Linked DNA regions of Homo sapiens: region 2 is linked to region 1. The links are contacts of gene promoters, found by promoter capture Hi-C in blood cells and fetal thymus (Javierre and others, 2016). All regions are on one chromosome and are shown on one strand. Each heading gives the region's core, a stretch centred on a gene start or on the middle of the fragment in contact. The rest is flanking DNA. Distances are from core to core; before and after follow the strand shown.

Region 1 (2,906 bases), core at 82-2,581:
CCTCCTCCTCACTGCCAGTTTGATCCAAGCTGGGCCTTAAACAACCTCTAGTGAATAGAGGGGCGGGTGGGGGTCGGGGACAAGCCTAAGCCTAGTGCACCCCTTCAGGGAAGGCCAGCTAGAGACCTTAAGCCTGGGGCTGGAATGGGGGAGGAAGACTTTTTGAAGTTTGATGCATTTGTTTATATCTTGCACCCAACATTATAGTTTTGAAATGAAGCTGTGGTTGAGATTTAGTTACAACAAGACTGTCAGTTATCTAAGAATGAGCAGAAAAATCCAGGGCTGTTTCGGGTCCTAAAATTATCCAATCAACGAATAGGTATTTATTTTCTGTTATGTTTGAAATCCTCTTGAGTATTTTGAAGAATATTTACATTCCTTTAGTTCAGGTTAGTATAATTTCCCACCTGGCACGATGCCTTACACATAGTATGTGCTCAAAAATATTTTCAATTTAATTATTCTTTACAAGATGCTTAGCACCAAGGGAAGTGGCATTTTCCCAGTGTTGATGACAAATAGCACTTCAGCTGGAAAATCTCCATATTTATAAAACGTGGTGCAAACCTGAATGGAGAGTGCTTATGATCTCACTTTTATTTAACACTGTACAGTGTTGCTAAATGGTCTAACAGGAGAAAAGGGAATTTAAACTAGAAACACATAAATGGAGTGCTTTTTGCCGTTCAACTGTGATGATGCACGAACAAAAAACGATTGGCCACGGGAGACCTAGACTGGAATCTCCTTCTCCTGCTCACTACACCTCAGGCCCCCAGTTCCTCTCCTGTGGATGGGGACGCCAGGCTGCCTACCTCAGACTCAGAAGGTACGATTACGTGCATACACTCTGCGAACTGAAGGGCTGTACAAATGCAAGGGCTTAATAACAGCCAACAGTTTAATATTCGTTGATTGCCACGTGCATAGCGCTTTACATCTATTTTCTCATGCAGTCTTCATAACAGCCCAAGACCTACCTAGGTACTATTATTAATATTTCCTGCCACTTGACATCGGAGGAAACAGAAGCTCAGCAAGTGGCTCCAGGTTATACAGAGCCCTAACCTGAGCCAGTAAATCCTTCTTACCCACAAGCATTAAGCTTCCGTCCTGCCTGCTGTTATTTAACAGAGGTGCTGGGATCCGGCAGGGGAGCAACAAATGTGGTTCGGCAAATTGCTAAACGAAAAGCGGACACCCGCCCACGACGCCTGCTCTGATCTGACCTCCCGGCCTACAGCCCTCTCCAGGCTCCTCCCACCCGCTCCGGCCGTCGCCACGCCTCGGAGCTTCTACGCATGCGTTGGCGGGACCCGCGCAGGCCCAGTGGCCGAGCGGCGTCGTGGGGTTACCCCGCCCGCGCCAGCGCTGCATCCCTGGCCGCTACCCGGGGAGAGCCGGAGGATGAATTGAACCTCGCAGCCGCTGCTATCTCCAGTGCTCATCACAGGTGCTTTGGGTCAGGTCGGAAGCCTCCTTCCCTGAGCCCTCGCCAAGCTCATTCCCCGGCCCGCCTCTCCCGCCCTGCAGCGGCCTGGCCCTGCGGTCTGGCTGCCGGGGCGGCGGCGGGAGGTAGTTTGTGTACGGTTACCATGGAGACGCTGGCTGCGGGGCGAAGTGGGAGGGTGGCCGGGCGGGGTGAGGATGCTGCTGCGCCCTGCCCTGGCCGGGACCGTGGAGGAGCGGGCACTGCCGTGGGTGGGGGAGCCGCTGTCCGAGCGGGAGGTGAGGTGTCCCCAGCGGCTCCCCAGGGACCCTTCCTGCCGTCGTCCGCCTGTGTGTCCTCGGATGGGGTAGAGAGACGATGAGTGCCCTGTGCATGCTGTCAGGGGTCCGGAGCGGTTGTCTTTTATTTATGTACTGTCGCACTTAGCCAAGTGCGTGGTGCTTAATAAGAAGCCCAGTAATATTTGTTGAATGAGAGTGGTAGACTAAGGGGCTTTGTCTAGGCAGGCGGTGACCGGGCCAGAGTCATACAGTTTATATCTGGGCACTTCCAGGCAACAGGGCCTCAATAAATAAAAACGTATGTGTAACAATATTTAACATACTTTAAAATCATGGAGTGTATACATAATGCCTTTTGTGATCCATTCCCACAAGTAACACAACAGATCTTACGTCCCACCCTGATTTATAATAATTATACTTTAATTTGGTTGAAAAGCAAGCACCATTTATTATATTTATCCTGGTTTCTTAATCTATGGGATTCTGGTTGTTGATGTTGATTTGGCATAGCTGATATTCAATAAAATGCTTAATAAAAATTATCTGTTTTCATAAAGGCAAGTACCACCACCCACCTTTTAAAAGGAGAAGTACGTAATGTAAATGACGAGTTGATGGGTGCAGCAAACCAACATGGCACATGTATACCTATGTATCAAACCTGTACATTGTGCACATGTACCCTAGAACTTAAAGTATAATAATAAAAAAAAACTTATGTATAGAAACACTGAACAAACGTCATTCTCTCTTTTGCAATTTCTTTTTTTAAATGTAGTTTTTCATTCGTGGAAATGATTTTGCTGTATCCTTTTATCATGTAGCACTTGGGCAATAATTGTTAACATCTTTAAGGGCCATATTTTAAAATGTTAACATTTTTAAAGCACTGTGCTAACGCACTTTACATGTATTATATCATTTAATTCTTCAAACAATCCTATGGGGCAATTATTATTACTATCCACCTTTTATAGATGAGGAAACTGATGCTTAGAGATATTAGAGGCATTGCCTAAGGTCACATGGCTGTGAATTGTCAGCATTTAAACCCTTAGTCCAGCATCTAAGCACTTAACCACTGCCTCTTTGGATGCTCATATTAATACAAAAATGATTCAGAGTTATGGAAGGGTCCTGAGTATTTGATTTGCAGGGAAGACTGTGAA
Region 2 (3,101 bases), core at 535-3,034, 280 kb before region 1:
GGCAGGGGGAGCCTCCGCTGCGAGGCTTTGGGGGTTATCTTTGATCCCCGGAGTCGGGGCACCTGGGGACGGTCTCGGAGGGGTGAATGAGGCTCCCCAGAAGCTTGGGGCATGGCCAGGTGAGGAGAGGGGGCAGGGGACGCCGGCGAGGGAAGGGCGAACGGACAGGAGTACATTTGCTGGATTCTCCGGACAGCACCGAGGAGGTAGGTCCGCAGCCAACTTTGGAGTAGAGTTTACCGTAGTGGGGGTCTGGTGCGGGCGCTGTGGCTGGAGTGAGAGGTGTGGGGGTGTTTGGGACGCAGTGTCTGGAGGAGGGGTTGGATGTGTGGTTTCCAGTCTGTCGCAGGAGCATGTTGCGTCGTCACTAGCTGAATGAGAACCTTCGGGTCCAAGTTTCAGCTTGTGGGTGTTAACACCTACAGGCACATCGATCCGATTAGAAAAAGCAGTGGTTGCAAACCTTTTCCTGGACGGCTTCCTTTCCTTGCCTATATTGATACCTTTTCTTCTCGGAGATGTCGCTCCAGTAAACCTGCTTCTGACTAGCTGCTTCTGAAATGTTCTGGGGCCTCGAACCGGCCGGTCTGGCCACCTCAATCCAGACTGGCTGCACCCGCTGCTCCCGCCGAGGCCTGGATTCAGGCACTGTTTGAGGGAAGGGCTCTGGTGTGGGGGACGCGGGGCCTGCGCTTCATTCACTCTGGCGTTTGGGAGGAGGTTTGGGGGCTGGGCCGGGCCGTAATGGCTTCTACCTGTAAATGAACCCGAAGAGAGACTCTCTACCGTTCCTTATCATCCTCTTGGGGCACGGGACACGTGGTAGGGAGAGAGGTGTGGAAAGGCCTATGATGTAATGACTTCCTGCAGTTGGGTATCCAAAGAGATTAACTCCTCTGCCCCTGCTGGGCTGCTGATATCCAGCTGCTTTCCTCTTCCTAGGCACCTCCCTGGCCCCTTCCCCCAAGACAGTGTGTGTCAGTACCAGGCCAAAGAGTCCTGTGCGATTGGAGATATACATCTCTTATCAGCTGCCCATATTTGCAATTTAGCTTAGATTTTTTTTTGTTTTGTTTTATGTAAAAGAAGTAGTTGCTTCCTCCTTCCCTTTCTTCATTGTCATTGGGGAGCCCTCTGTCTTCCTGGGTTTCAGGAGGTATAAAAATAAGAACAGTTTAATCTTAGTGGAGAATTCAATGGAAGCACTGGAGACGAGCCTGTAGATGAAAAAGTTAAAGAACTTAATGTAGAGAATGTTTTATTTTGCTTCTAGAAAACCCTTGCAAAGTTAAATACGGCTTATATCAGAGAGGCTTTGTATTAGATACTTTAAAAGCAAAACACGTGTGCTTTGATATTAATCCACTAATGTGTCTCATTTCTTTTAACAAATGCTTACATTATGAGTCTTATATTTGGTTTAATTCAATTGCTTTGTAAAAGAATGCCAGGTGTATGATACGAGAGTTCTTTACAGAAAGGATGAAAGTTAGACAATTCCATTTGAAAAGAGCACTAGTGTGATATGTTTTAAAACTGGGTTTCCAAGTGGATGGGAAGGGTTAATCAGTGTATAGTATCAGGAAGGCGTAAGCGGACAGGATCTGAGAACATGGATTTGGGGGTTCGAAATGTTTTTCAGATTTCTCTCACTTGAAATTTAGTCTTGCATGTTTGAATTTGGTGAGGAGAATACGTTAGTGAAAAGTTAGTTAACTTTAAACTTAGTTAAAACGTTAACGTAGGAAGGCGTTTTCACCTTTCCTGTGATTTTTAAGGTTACAAAAATAATTTAATTTCACAAATATTTCTTGTTATTTTGTTTATAGTTAAATATAATAAGTTTAATGAACTTTATTTTTGGGGGGAAGATTTACATGAGATAATGGTATTACCAAAAGTAGCCGCGAATTGAGATTGGGCTAGATACATTTTCATATAGTTTGTAGGACTTGCAATACAGATTTTGGGACTAGTCATAAACTTTATGGTTTTATGTCATCGTTTTTTTGTCTTATGGTTTTTTTTTTTTACCCTTCTCTGCTATCTCATTTCTCTTCAACTAAAATCTTAGAAAATACTGTAAATTGAAATTCTCAAGGCTTAATATGCTTAATACAGGGCACACATTTTATGATTCTTTTACCTTAAAATTTTTTACCAATTCCATTTCTGAGTGTCACATGACAACTAATCCTTGACGACTAAAGGGATATAATTTTGTTAGAGTTTTTATAAGATGATCTTCATCAAAAGATGCAGCCATGCAGGAACTTTCAAATCTTTGATGATGGAGAAGGCCCTTTGAAACTGGAGCTGGTTTTATATTTTGATTATGACTAATAGGCAACCTTTTTTTGTGTGTGCTTGTGGTTTAGTGGAAGAAGAGGGAAAAGGGAGAGATCAGGAGCTAATTGTGACCCATTTCCAAGTGTCCAAGTTTAGGAGTTGATTCTTGTCATGATTAGTCATTTTGGAAGCACGCATGTGCATTTAAACCACACTACTTTCATTCTGAGTAATGTAAGAGGATTTTTAACTTCCAAAAATGTCTAGAATTCAGGTTAACGTCTCCTAGTCATGTGTGCATAAAGGGCACGGTATGCAGGGCCTTACTTCTTTTCAGGCTATTTGGGCCATTGCATTATGAGACCTTGTAACCAAAATTATCACCCTAACATCATAAAATGAAAGAATTAGAAAAGAGGACTTAGAGATCAGAATCTAAATCAGTGGTTCTCAGCCCTGGTTGCATGTTTGAATTACCTGGGAACTTCTGAAAAATACAAATACCCAGAGAATTTGATATAATTTGGCTTGTGTGTGGCTTAGCATTGATGGTTTTGTGTTTTGTTTTTTTTTTTCAAGTTTCTTAGGTGATTCTAATGTATAGTTAGGATGAAGTTTTCTGATCTAGTTCAACCCTCTTATTTTACTGGTGAAAAACCTGATTTTTGGAAAAGCTAATGACTTTCTTAAGATCACACAGCTAGTTAGTAGAGAGGTAATTAGTAGCCACAGTTCTAGAGGTTTTTGTTTTCCATTTTCTTCTTTAAATTGATCTTTTTTAAAAGGTCATTTGCTAGGTAATGGATAGTCTC

Evidence for each region. Contacts are between HindIII fragments. The CHiCAGO score rates a contact against its expected background, and 5 or more counts as called.
Region 2: a contact is called between a fragment that was not itself captured here and the fragment with the promoter of ARMC2 in region 1, in 16 of 17 cell types (megakaryocytes, M1 macrophages, monocytes and 13 more). The highest score is 14.0, in megakaryocytes.

The regions. Positions count from the first base shown.
Region 1 is chr6:108,847,091-108,849,996 of GRCh38, forward strand. It overlaps ARMC2 (armadillo repeat containing 2), which reads left to right and starts at 1,332. Exons shown (of 18, transcript NM_032131.6): 1 at 1,332-1,456. RefSeq lists a silencer at 1,590-1,689. The HindIII fragment of the contact is 2,745 bases long and covers 1,107-2,906 here.
Region 2 is chr6:108,561,938-108,565,038 of GRCh38, forward strand. All of the region lies in intron 1 of FOXO3 (forkhead box O3), which reads left to right. Among named protein-coding and RNA genes, the nearest start is that of FOXO3, 2.6 kb to the left of the region's middle. RefSeq lists an enhancer at 769-1,063. The HindIII fragment of the contact is 3,367 bases long and covers 102-3,101 here.